Regions from separate parts of the Homo sapiens genome. Here region 1 is linked to region 2. Evidence: promoter capture Hi-C in 16 types of primary human blood cells and fetal thymus (Javierre and others, 2016). All regions are on one chromosome and are shown on one strand. Each heading gives the region's core, a stretch centred on a gene start or on the middle of the fragment in contact. The rest is flanking DNA. Distances are from core to core; before and after follow the strand shown.

What was found. Contacts are between HindIII fragments. The CHiCAGO score rates a contact against its expected background, and 5 or more counts as called.
Region 1: a fragment that was not itself captured here is called in contact with the fragment with the promoter of ENTPD4 in region 2 in 1 of 17 cell types (non-activated CD4 T cells); the score reaches 5.4 in non-activated CD4 T cells.

What each region holds. Positions count from the first base shown.
Region 1 is chr8:20,489,775-20,496,474 of GRCh38, forward strand. No RefSeq gene overlaps it. Among named protein-coding and RNA genes, the nearest start is that of SNORD3F, 120 kb to the right of the region's middle. RefSeq lists an enhancer at 3,582-4,120. The HindIII fragment of the contact is 288 bases long and covers 4,515-4,802 here.
Region 2 is chr8:23,455,952-23,462,787 of GRCh38, forward strand. It overlaps ENTPD4 (ectonucleoside triphosphate diphosphohydrolase 4), which reads right to left and starts at 1,696. Exons shown (of 13, transcript NM_004901.5): 1 at 1,606-1,696. ENTPD4-DT (ENTPD4 divergent transcript) reads left to right here and starts at 1,820. Exons shown (of 5, transcript NR_186533.1): 1 at 1,820-2,038; 2 at 3,263-3,403. RefSeq lists a silencer at 1,230-1,909. The HindIII fragment of the contact is 7,512 bases long and covers 1-6,336 here.

The DNA of each region.
Region 1 (6,700 bases), core at 3,409-5,908, 3.0 Mb before region 2:
TGCACTCGCTAGATTAATGTCTGCATATCATGTGTTGGCGTGTTAATCTCCTCTAAAAAAGGTACCACATCTAGCAAAGTAGGCACAATTGGGGGCTGCTGTTTGGTTAAATTGGCAGTAGCCCACTCTCATCCACCGTGATCTATCTGGCTTTTGGATGCTAGCATTCCCGTTGCGATCAGGGAGTCCAATATTGTAACAGCATCGCCTACTGCCAGCTCTAGCTGAAAGAAGACAGACACCACTGAGCACATGAGTGATGCTGGTGTTCCTCTCACCAACACATTCCTTATCACTTTGGGAAATAAAATGTCCTCTTAGTCTTCATAGAACATAGTCAGAAAGTGGGTTTTTTGCCTGTATCCACTCTGTCCCACCCATTTTTCTGAGCTCTTTGAGCCCTTCTTCCATCATTTGCCAGGGAAGTGCTGGTACATCCATTTAGTTTGGGCCATTACTGGTTCTAAACTTACAAGATTCAACCTGGCAGTTTAGTAGCATCTTCTTCCAGGATCCTTGCCAGGGTGTTCAATTCCATATCATGGGGAAATTTTAATACATTTTCATATTAATATAACCCCCTTTATCCAACTGTGTTCCATCCCCTTGACTCATTGCCCTCAGAATCCAGCCTAATGCACACACTCCCATCTCTTCTTGGTACATATCAGCCAGAACCTGCACCCCTTTGGTGTATAGTCCCTCTCTTCCACATACTCCCTCCTTCTCTGGCCTTGTTGGTCTTGTTGATTTGACTTTTCCTATTGGTCTGATTGACGGAAAGAAAGATTGGCATAGGAATCCCCAGGGGGCCAGTTCAGTCTTGCAAGGCAGCTGACTCATTTGCCATCATTGTATGATACTCAGGCAAGGAAGTGGGGGCACTATCCTCTATCAAGAGGAATAGGTACTTCTGCAGGCCAGCAGGTTTGGGGGAAGATGGGAGTTAAAAATTCTCAACTACATCATTACCCAGGTAATCACATCCCAAGTGTCAGAGTCCTACTCCTTTTCTGTTATGGCCTTGACCTTGGCATAGGAGACCTCTCAGCTGAGAATTCAGTCTTCCCTGAAGTTCTGTTGCTATTACATGATTAATTACTGAATCCGATTTTTTGTGTGGATGACCCTCTGTTATAGTTTTTTTTTTTTTTTTTTAAATGCTGCAAAGGAAATCACCTGGCTTTCACATTTTACCTTGAATTATCAACTGATTATCATGAGTTTTATACTATCTCTCTTCAGCGAGTGAATCTGTAGCACTCAACAACGGCCACCAATTCCATGGTCTTTCGAGTTATTATTTCCCTCATGCCTCTAAGGTGCCAGAGATATTACTCCAGCCAGTGCATCACCTTTTACTGGTGTTCTAATACCTTTAAGCTAGGTAGACATTTTGCAGTTGCACTGCTAAAGCACACCAGACACTACCCATACTATACTGACCACCAGGATGGAGTCCTCATTGCCAACTGGCCAGGGAATAATTCACCTCCAAAAGCATATTTGATAGCCCACTTTCTAGGTCCAATCCTGGTATTAATGGGCTCAGACTGGGTTCCCTGGAAACAGACTATGAAATGGAGAATTTCACTCAGGGTTTATTAGGGAGTGCTCTTGGGAAAAACACCTGTTCAAAAAAAATGAGGAAGGGAGGGTTGGGGAATGAGGAGGAAGAGAAGAAGGAGGAGGAGAAAGAAGAAAGCAGCAGTAGCTGAAATTTACTGACCTAAAAAATAGTTTCCACTGAGGATTCAGCCAGTTCTGTGGGGAGCTTTGAGCTAGGATGACCTTTCCGACCTTTCAGAGTTGTTCCCAGTTGAGACAAAGTTGAAACTTTTTGGATTCCCGTATCAGTCCATCATTGGCCACAGGCTGTCTCTTTGGAGGGGTGTAACCTTGGGCAAGGGAATTCTTTGTGGCTTAGGGCATCGCGCAGTCAGGGTCACAGCTGTGAATCCTCAGCAGTCAGTATTCTCAGCATCTGGGAACTGACAAATCAGCCCTGATGAGGGGATCTGAGGAGAGCACTGGAGTGCCTGCTGCAGGTACCCTGAGCTCATGGTTCCCACTGAGCAGCAAGAACTGGATTTAGAAAAAGTGGAGAACAGCCTGGCAACATAGACCTCATCTCTACTAAAATTAAAAAAAAAAAATTAGCCAGGCATGGTGTCTTGCACCTGTAGTCCTAGCGACTTGGGAGGCTGAGGCAGGAGGATTGCTTGAGCCTGGGAGATCGAGGATGCAGTGAGCTGTGGTGATGCCGCTGTACTCCAGCTGGGCGTGAGACCCTGTTTCCAAAAAAAAAAAAAGTAGAGGAGCAAAAATAGTACATTGGTAATGGCAACACCAATTTCACACTAGCCTAGGATTATCAAATATTATTCTGTTTGATCTTAGACAAGCTATTCAGCAATTTTTGTGCCAAGTTTCTTTAACTGTAGAATAAAATTACTAACTAGATATGAACCTTGAAATGGTGCATAGCATATTGTAAATAAAAAAAATCATTGTTGTTGTTATTGATATCGGTATTTTTCAGCAACACAAAGTTATTTTCTAGCTCTATCTCCCTCCTCATGATCATCTAACCTGGCCCTTGCCCGCCTTTCTCCTAAAATGAAACTTCTACTTCTATCTTGCTGGTTTCCTCACTTGTTCCCAAAAGATGCCATGCACGATGCTTGCACCATTTCCCTTCCTAGACTCTGTCCTCATTGGTCTCCCCTAAGGCTATCTAAATCTATGTGGTCCTCAAGGGAGTGGAAGGAGCAAGTGCTTTGGATTTAAAAGTCTAGGTTTAAGTCTTAGATCCTCACCTTACTTAAGTTGCGCGACCTTGGGTAAGCCATTGAACATGTCTCAGGGTCAATTTCCTCACCATTAAATATGGGACAATAGCAACTACTACACTAGCTTGTCACGAGGAGTAAATATGATAACTAGGTTAAACTCCCAGCACAGACCCAGGCATACTTTAGTTTGCTCAACAAGCATTGGCGATTGGATTCCTTCACAACCTTAATATGATCTAACCAGAGAGCCATTCAATGCACAATTATTGAAAGCCTGTGATGCACATGTACCTGCAAGGGATAGTAAGGTGCAGGAGTTACAGCTCCCCCAAGGATGATAACAGTTGCCTTGCAGCTTTCCCAACCTCCTCAGTGTGCAGGCCCCTCCCCACCTCTCCCTCCTGGTATCTCTACTGCACAGACCCATGCTCCATCTGAACACCAATCTCTTAGGCATTGCTATTTACATCTTCCTACATATCAGTTATGCCTCTCCATGTCAATTGTGAGCTGCTTGAGGGGAGAGACTTCCATATTCTTCCCTGTCCCCATACAACAGTTAACACAGGCACATGCCCTGTGCTCTCTAAGTAATTGCTAAATAAATACATTTTAAAGGAATGTTTGTGATCCTTGATAACACCGAGCAGTTTTCATTTTGCAGGCTGACACCTGTTGGAACCATAACATCAATTTTGCGGGCTGTGACATCAAAATGCCCCTAGTACGCATGAGTATTATTTGCTGAAACTTTCGTTTTTGTCTTAAATGCCTGTCACAGGCTGGGTTGTGGTTTAAAAATAAGTTTCTTACTTTTGATCATGGTTTGAAAAAAGAAAAAAAACAGTGACAGGATGCGTATGACAAGGCTCCTAGCTTGGATGCTGAGCCCCTTGTGGGCAGAATCAAAGACATTGGGCACCAAGACCTCCCAGCTGGAGAGGAAGCAACTGGTTTCAGAAAAGCTCTCCTGGGGTTGGGGCGGATTAGAAGACAGGCAGTCAAGAGAAGAAATGCTCAGGGGCCTGAGCACAGTCGCTCAAACTGCTTATTGTCTGGGCAACAAATAGGCACTGCAGGCGCACCTAAAAACCTCAAGTGTCTTTCCTTCAGAAAGACACAAAGCACTTAAGACCCTGCAATTGCTCAAGATTTTCCTCTAGGGATCCTTGTTTTCTCTAGAGCTTTAGATTGTAATAGAAACACCGTTGCCTTCATTCTTTTCTCACTTATTAAGCTGAAAAAGTAATCTGGAATCTTTAGCCTTTGGAGATTTGGCGATAATTTCTTGATGCAAAATTTGTATAGACAGCTTGACCATGATTGAAAGACCACATGAAAAAATCCTTGAAATTGAAATTGAAATCCTTGAAACTCAAAATTCTAGGACTGGAAATTCTTATCACCTATAGATGCTTTGAGGTTGAATTCAAAGTGTCATTGACCCAGGCACTGTTGGGAGTAGGAAGCCTTTTTTCTTAGGGAATTTGAGCCTCAACCTCTGTCTGCACTTTGCAGCATTGGCTGTGATGGGGCTTGTCTTGGCTGTGATGGGGCTTGTCTTCTGGTTCCATGTTCTGGACAAATGCTTCCACCTTTCTTTCTGGAACGCCTGCCTAATGTCTGGCTGTCTGCTGTTTGTACTCTGAAAACTACTTTAATTGGGAAGGTAAAATACAGTCTCAAATGCCCTTTTTGTGCCTTGTGAAAGCCCTCTAAAGCTTAGCTTAACTCAAAGAGCTTAAATCAATAGCACCGGCCCATTTTCTAATCACAGGGAATTTAATAATGATCAGGAAAGCCATTATCAGTCTGATCTGTGGGACTGTTTGGACTTTAACTCTTGGAAAACAGCTTCCTGTCAAACTTACATACTGTTATCATATAAAATGTCACTGAGAAGGGTATTAAAATCCCTCTTTGGAGAGAAAGCCTTATAGGGGTTCTATCAAAACTACTCTGTATGCTGATGAGTTAGGTGCTAGGAGAGAGAGAGAGCTAAAAACAAGCTTGGAGGTGGAAAGGAGGGAATTGTTCTCTTTTTGCCACAGCACACCCAAATGGAGAAGGGGAGGCTTCTTGGTGTCTGGGTCTGTAATTCAAGAAGTCCCTTGAGACACCTCAGCCCAGGGGCTGGAAAGTTCACGTCTATCCGCTGAGGCCTGGGAAGCCTGTTGGGGCCCCTGAAGGGAAGGGTGAGAGGAGAGCAGCCATGTCGCTCCATGGCTCCTGGCAGAAGTGTGAGGCTCCTGGACTCTGGTGACTTAGCCCCATTTACCATCACAGAGACATATAATACAGGCATTTGCCTACTTAGATCCCAGCCATGTGAGTTTTGGAAGTCTGCTGAGGTGAATTTCAACCCTGGTTACCATAATGCAGTTGGGCCTTTTGTGAGTTGAATGTGATGTTGTTGTTTTTAGGGATTAAATGTTCAGAGAGAACCACTGACTTGGGGTTAGATGGTTGGCCTTTAACAAAACCCTAAAGGAACAGGGTGTGAACAGTTACATAACAAAAGATAAGAGGAACTACTTGAAAAGCTGAGTTGGCCAGCATGGTGGCTTATGCCTCTAATCAGCACTTTGGGAGGCTAAGGTATAAAGAGCACTTGAGCCCAGGAGTTCGAGACAAGCCTGGACAACATAGTGAGACCCCTCATCTCTATAAAAAAATGTTAAAAAAATAGCTTGGTGTGGTGACACGTGCCTGTATTCCCAGCTATTCACAAGGCTGAGGTGGGAGGATTGCTTGAGCCCAAGAGGTTAAGGGTTGGCCAACTCTCTGCACCTGGGTTCTTCCAGCAGCCAAAGACTTGTAGAGAAGAGAAATGAGTGCATGTGGGCTCCGGGGGGCACATTCCTCCATTGTGTGCTCACATCAGACAGTCTCCACGATCCCAGCCAGCTCCTGGGGCTGTGACCTCCTGGGGTCCAGAGTCTTTCCTGAGCCACTGCCATGAAGCCAAAGTCCCCAGAGTGAAGCTGCCTGCACTGTGTCCTATGTCACCAGCCCTGGTTGCCCTACTTGACACAAATGGAGACCCCATCTCCATCTGACTTGTTTAAGGTCTTAAGTCTAAAACCTCAGCATCTTCACAACTCCACTTGCCTTATCCCTCCCCCACCAGATCCCCCCCCTCCAGGACTGCTAATCTCTCCTGCTGGGATGCACGTGCTCCCACCCCACATTTTGCAGGTTTTAACCCCTTTGGCTCTTTCAGATAGGCCTTAACCTCCTTAAGAAACTTATAACACATGGAGAGCGAAGGCCCAACACTGATTTTACATATTAGAAACTCAAACTCCGAGGTGGTCCGTGAGACCCTGTGGCTGGTCGGTGGCAGCAGGTGCCCAGGACACTGGCCTGGGCCTTATTCCTGGCCTGTGTGCCTTCTGTGTACCACCTGCCTGGGATGTCTCCATGTTGTACATAGAGAAGACTCTGGAGGGGGCCTTAGTACAAGCTTTGTTGCCCCAAAACTGAGTGATTGAGGGAAATACTGCAATCCCTCTGGTCTTCCTTTCTTTTTCTGTAAAATGAGGATAATCATGTCTAATTTGAAGCTTAAATGTATTTAGTGTTCCTAGCACTAGAACTGGCATGTAAAGTACTTAATTGAACTGTCATTGACATGCTTCCTGAAAAATTACAGGAAAAATGGATCCTGAAGGAAAATTGGGAGTTATGGACTGCATGATTTTGTTTCCCCAAATTCATAAGCTGAACTCAGAACCCCCGGTGTGATGGTGTTAGGAGGTGGGGCCTTTGGAAAGTGATTAGGTCATAAGGGTGGAACCCTCGTAATGGAATCAGTACCCTTGTAAGAAGAGACAGGAGAGAGCTTGTTTTTGTGTTAGGCTGTTCTTGCGTTGCTACAGAGAAATACCTGAGACTGAGTAATT
Region 2 (6,836 bases), core at 446-2,945:
CTAAGATGACCACAGCAGGCACCACTACCTCAAGACAGATCTCTTGGCGACTCACCCACCTTCTGCCTTCACTGTGCACGCCACACTTTACAAGCAACTCTTTGTAAAACACGGCCTTCAAAATATGATCAGCTAAGAACCTTCTGGAAGGCCATGGATCAACACCAAGTTTCCTGTGTGGCACCTGAAACCTTTTATCCATCAACTGGTCCACCTTATCTCACCAACCTATCCTCTCATCAGTCCCAGATACCATCTCTCAGCTCCAGTGCAGCAGGTCTCTCTCTTCTCTCCCACACAAGCTGTCTCCATGCCTGCCTCAGGCATTTACTAACAGCACTTCCTCCGAGCCACCACCGTGTCCTCCTCTCAAGACTACACTTCTTTCAAGGCACAAGTCAACATGTTTCTTTGTCAAGATTTAACCTGTTACACATCCTGATGTTTTCTTACAATTGGAATCGTCTCTTTATTCATGAGTAGTCTATTTTAAATAAACATGCTGAGTAAATACGTAGAGAATATAAATCCTTAGATAAATGTTCATTTTTGTCTCCTTCCTAGACTATATCCTCAAGGGCCTCAGTCACACATTTCCTATTAGAGGTAGAAGAATATAAGCCATAGATTCAACATGCAACAACTACAAGACCTCTGTTAAGGTAAACAGAGAAATAAACGATTCAACTACACGAATTAGTGTTCCATTTTATAATTCTACTATGTCAAACAGAATTAACAAACCTGATACAAAAACATCAAATATATGGTAACACAAATAATATAACTCTTTTAGGCCTCTCTAAAGCTGGATAATTTGGTATTTTCATCACAAAAAGGAGACAACAAAGACTGCAATGCGAAATTAGCCTGGGCTTTGAGTGTCTAATTTAGAATTCTTCCATTACCTCTAGTTTACCTTCTAGCCTGAAAGTTCCTGAATCATAAAGGATCTCTTTAGTTTCCTTCGTGATAAGTGTTCTCTGAAAACGCTCTGCACTAGGGTTCATCTAACTGGGGTCTGAAGCACCCTAAGGGTTCTGGGACACATTCTAGACCATGAGAGAATTGTTCCTTTAAAAGGGGTCCGCGCATTACTCAAGTTCAGAAACAATGCTGTGCATCATCACTTTACTGCCCAATAAGCTCCATTTTTCCAAGAAGAAATCTAACATGAAATCTGGCAAAAGCAAAGCAAAGCGAAAACGACAAGACGAGCGAATGTCATCATTTAAAGCGGCAGGCAGGGCCGGCTGGGTCCCGGGTGCAGCATCCCTGCTGCCCGGTCAAGCTCCGCCCATTCGAGGGGGGGATCCCGAGCGGTCACCCGAGGCGCGCGACCGCCAGGTGTCCCCTGCCAGGGGCTGGGGGAGCGCGCCGGCCGCCAGGGCTCACAGGGGTTGGTCCCGGGGCGCTCGGATGTGGCCGCGCGGCAGGGGAGGCGGGAACCGGTCCGCGGGGCTAAGCAGGCGGCTGTGGGGGCCTGGGGCAGAGAGGCTCGTCCGCGGCCCGCTCGCCGCGCCGCCGGCCCCCGCACTCCAACCCACTCGCCGGCCCCTTCGGCCGCCCGCCCTCCCCTCACCCACGCTCGGAAGGCAACCTCACCTGCTTGGCCGGCCGGGGACCCCGGGAGCGGGGGACCACCAGTGGGCAGCATCACGGCCAGCCGGCTTCCTGGAGGCCGCGCTCCTTTCCTGGAGCCGCACCCCCGCCCGGCCCCCGCCGGCAACACGTCACCGCCTGCGCCCGGAGCGCGCCCGCTGGCGGCGGGAGCGCGCACGCCGAGGGGCGCGTTGAGCGCTGGGGGGCGGAGCCTGATGCGGGATGATTGGCGTCCGAGCGCTGGGCTGTTCCGTGGACCCGCGCGGCCACGCCAGTGTGCTGTGCACGGGAAATGTGGACGTGGGAGCACGGAGGCACCCAGTACTGTGGCGTGGTGCTCGTCTGGTCGTCAGCGAGCCTCAGCGTACTTAGGACACCGCAGTTTATCTTTCCTTAGCGCTCCTAACGGTTATGGAAAATAGCGCTTGAAAACCTGGTAAGGACTAGGCATTGTTGCTCAACTCTTGACATTTACACCTTTGCCGGTAACTCTCCCTGTTTCACAGATGGGGAAACGGAGGCTCACACTTATTCAGTCTCTCTTGAGATCCACCTGATTCGTGAGAGGTAGAGCCAGGATTTCATTCTTGCCCGTCGATGGCATATGTTAGTGCCTATGTTGGGGGAGGCAGACTGCCCCAGCCCTCCCCAACACACGCAATGGTTATGAGAAGAAATAAAGCGAAGGGTGTTCCTGAGATTGACCCCATGACCTACACTTAGTACAAGGCTAAGCTCTCTTAGCTCTCTGGCTTAGCAATAAACTGCTTTGAAGACACAGAACTTTGCACTTGAGAGCCGGAAGAGACCTTGGGAATCCCGGGTTCCATCCTTTCTTCCACCTTGTATACAGGTGAATGCACTGTGGCCCAGAGATAGGAAGTGACCAGCAATCCAGCCACTTTAAAAGATTTTTAAAAACAAGAGCCCTAGAAACGTCTACTCCATTCCATTTATCAAGTAAAACAAGCATAGACAGAACTGGCAGTTCTACATCTTAACACAGAATCCTTCTTGGTCCAGCACCCGCCTGGGTCACCTCCTCTTCCTGGATTCAGCTACTGTTAACGGAAGAAACCATGAAGCCTCAGAAGGTTAGAGCCAAAGGGACTCTACTGTGTAGCCCCAATCACCTTCTTTTACAGTTAAGAGCCTGGAACCCAGAGAGGTTGAGTGACTTGGCCAAGACCCCCTGGAGGCAGAGGAGAGCAGAACCAATGTTTCAGACTCCCACATGACTTGCGCATCAGTGTCTTTTTTTTGACAATCTGTTGCTATAAGAAATTACTCGTTTGGATAATTTTCACACTAGAAAACCCTGTGACCCAAGGCTAGCATTGAGAAGCTAAAGCTGGCCACTGACATACTGTGATTTTAAGGACAGTCTCCTTCGAAATTATCTGCCTTTCAAAATCTTTGCCATTGGAGACACTGGTTGGGGTTATGTTAGTCTTCCTTAAGGAGGGCTCTACTAAAATGCCAGACTAGGCCGGGCATGGTGGCTCATGCCTGTAATCCCAGCACTTTGGGAGTCCAAGGCAGGTGGATTGCCTGAAATTAGGAGTTCAAGACCAGCCTGACCAACATGGTGAAACCCCATCTCTATTAAAAATACAAACACTAGCTGGACATAGTGGCTTTTTTGTGCCTGTAATCCCAGCTACTCAGGAGGCTGAGACAGGAGAATTGCTTGAACCCGGGAGGTGGAGGTTGCAGTGAGCCGAGATCACGCCAATGGACTCCAGCCTGAGCAACAGAGTGAGACTCCATCTCAGAGAGAGAGAGAAGAAAAGCCAGACTAGTAAGTATTATCACACCATCCATATTTCCTGATAATTTATATGTAATAATTGTCTGATAAGAGCTAGGAAAGAAAAATATAGGAAAGTATGGAAACGTGTAACTTGGCATATTACATTCTAGAGCTGCAGTGACAAATTGCCCTAAACTGGGTGGCTTAAAGCAAGATAATTTATTGTCTTCCAGTTCTAGATGGTAGAAGCCTGAAATGAAGGTGTCAGCAGGGCTGTGCTCTCTCTAAAGATCTAGAGGAGGATCCTTCTTTGCCTCTTCCTAGCTTCTGGTGGCTACTGGCCATCCTTGGCCTTCCTCAGCTTGTAGATGCATCACTTTGGTCTCTGCCCCTGTTGTCACATGGTATTATCTCTGTGTGTCTGTGTCTCTGTCTCCAAGTTTCTTTCTTCTCATAAAGACACCAGCCATATTAGATTCAAGGCTCACCCTCATCCAGTGTGATCTTATGATCTCATATTAACTTGATTATATTTGCAAAGATCCTATTTCCAAATAAGGTCACATTCATGGGTTCTGGGTGGACATGAATTTTTTGGGGGTGGTCACTATTCAACTTAGTACATGAGAGGACCATCCTGGTCTGGTTCATCAGGGAGAGCTTCTTTGAGGTAACGCTGTCTGAGGTCACACCTGCACAATGAATGGGAATTTATTAGAATTCTGGGCCTATATGAAGGAATAGTATTTCAGTCAGTGGAAACAGCAAAGAGGCTCTGAAGGGGCCCATTCTCACTTGTTAACAAGAGAAACAAAAACTGGAGCTAGGCTGGGCGCGATGGCTCAAGCCTGTAATATCAGCACTTTGGGAGGCCGAGGCGGGTGGATCACGAGGTCAGGAGATCGAGACCATCCTGGCTAACACGGTGAAACCCTGTCTCTACTAAAAAAAAATACAAAAAATTAGCTGGGCGTGGTGGCAGGCGCCTGTAGTCCCAGCTACTCAGGAGGCTGAGGCAGGAGAATGGCGTGAACCCGGGAGGCGGAGCTTGCAGTGAGCTGTGATCGCACCACTGCACTCCAGCCTGGGCGACAGAGCAAGACTCCATCTCAAAAAAAAAAAAACAAAAACTGGAGCTAACAGGAGGGAACACTTACTAAGTACTTTATGCCAGGCATGGTTGTAAGAACGTTAGAAAACACGGCATACAGAATGATAATGAAACTGCATCAAAATATGTGGAATGCAGTCAGAACAGTCCTTCAAGAGAAATTTATAGCTTTAAAAGTTTATTTTAGTAAAGAAAAAAGGTTTGAAATCAATTATCTAAGTTTCCACCTTATGACATTAGAATAAGAAAGTGAATTAAACTCGAAGTGAATAGGAGGAAAAAAATAATAAAAAATAATATGAGACATTAACCAACTTACAAGTTGGTTCTTTGAAAATATTAACAAAATTGCTAAACTCCTAGTGAGATTGAGCAGGACAAAAAAACACGAATAACAAATATCAAGCATAAAAGAGGAAGATCCCTACAGATATACAGAAATTGAAAATATAATAAGAAAACATTATGAATAACTTTATGCTGATCATTTCGATAATTTACATTAAATGGAAAAAGTCTTTGAAAAATACAACTTCCCAAAACTGGCACAGGAAGAAATAGAACATTTGAATCACCCCATATCTTTAAGGTCCTAAAAAGAAAATTCCAGAGCAAGATGGCTTCACTAGTAAATGTTTATCAATCATTTAAGAAAGGTAATATTGATTTTATATAAACTCTTTTGAAAGAACAAAGGAAGAGAGAACACTTTTTAATTTATAATTCAGAATAATCCTGATACCAAGAAATAAAAAGGAAAGAAAATCACACACCTATATTTCTTACATAGGTGCAAAAATTTTAACAAAATATTGGCCAATCAAGGTCAGGTGTAATGACTCATGTCTGTAATCCCAGCACTTTGGGAGGCCGAGGCAGGTGGCTCACCTGAGGTCAGGAGTTTGAGACCAGCCTGGCCAACATGGTGAAACCCCATCTCTACTAAAAATACAAAAATTAGCCAGGCAAGGTGGTGGGCACCTTTAATCCCAGCTACTCAGGAGGGTAAGACAGGAGAATTGCTTGAACCTGGGAGGTGGAGGTTGCAGTGAGCTGAGATTGCGCCACTGCACCCAGCCTGGGTGACAGAGTGAGACTCCATCTCAAAAAAACAAAAACAAAAACAAAATTGGCAAATCAAATCCAGCGACATCTGAAAGAGCAAGATAGCATTACCAGGTGGGATTCTTTTTTGAGGAATGCAAAATTGGCTCAACATTTGAAAATCAATCAATGTCATTCACTACATAAACAGAATAAAGAAGAAAATTCATATGATTCGTATGATCTCAGTCAATGCAAAAAAAAATTTGGCAAAATTCAACACCCATTCATAATTTTGAAAAAAAGCCTTTATCAACTATAAAGGGTATGATTTTCCTCAGCTTGATGGAGCATCTACAAAGAATACAGCTATCATGGTTGTAAAATCAAAGTAACTCATTTTGTGCATGGGACTTTAAAAGTGTTAAATGAAATATTGAACAAATATGTGATACCTGGAGATACATGACCATTTTGCAACCATGGGACAACAGTCATCCTGATAAGAGCCAACAATAAATACGATGGAACTGAAAGATAGAACTGTTTGGGTCCATGATGGCATCATTAAACCGCTGAACTAGTACCAGTGACTGTGTCTACCCCCTGACTTCTTATTAGGAGAGAAAAATAAGCTCTTTATTTGTTTAAATTTCTTTTGGTTGGATATTCCATTACTTGTTGTTAGGTCTTTAAAAATATTTGTTGACTGGTTGGGTGACTTGCTCAAGGTTATAAAACTAAATGGGAGACAGGATGACTTAATGTAAAAAGTACCAAGCCGGGAGGCAGGAAACCTGAATCCTTATCCTCAATAGACTGTGTAAGCTTAGAAATTGTAGTTTGCCTTACTGGTCCTCACCATCCATATATAATTTGTAAAAGGAAAGGGGTTTGTGGAGATGGCTAAGCTGACCTTTAACGTTCTTTCCAGGTCTAAAATCTATGATTTCTAAGAGGCAAAAGAGAAGACTAGAAGTAAGATTTTCCCTTTCTCTCTTCTCCTTTCCCTCCCTGCTGTGGTCTGAATGTGCCGCCCAGTTTTCATGTGTTGAAACGTAATGACCAATGTGATTAGCATTAAGGGGTTCTGCCTCTCAGCATTAATTAAGTCATGAGGGTGGAGCCCTCATGGGTAGGATTAGAGACCTTATAAAAGGGCTTGAGGAAACGTGTTTACTCTCTTCTGCTCTTCTGCCCTGTAAGTACTTAGCACTCAACCCCTTTCTGTCTTTCCATACCTTCTGTCAGATGAGGATACCTATATAGCTCAATCTTTGAGGAACAGGTTTTTACCAGATAGAAAATGTGCTTTGGACTTCCCAG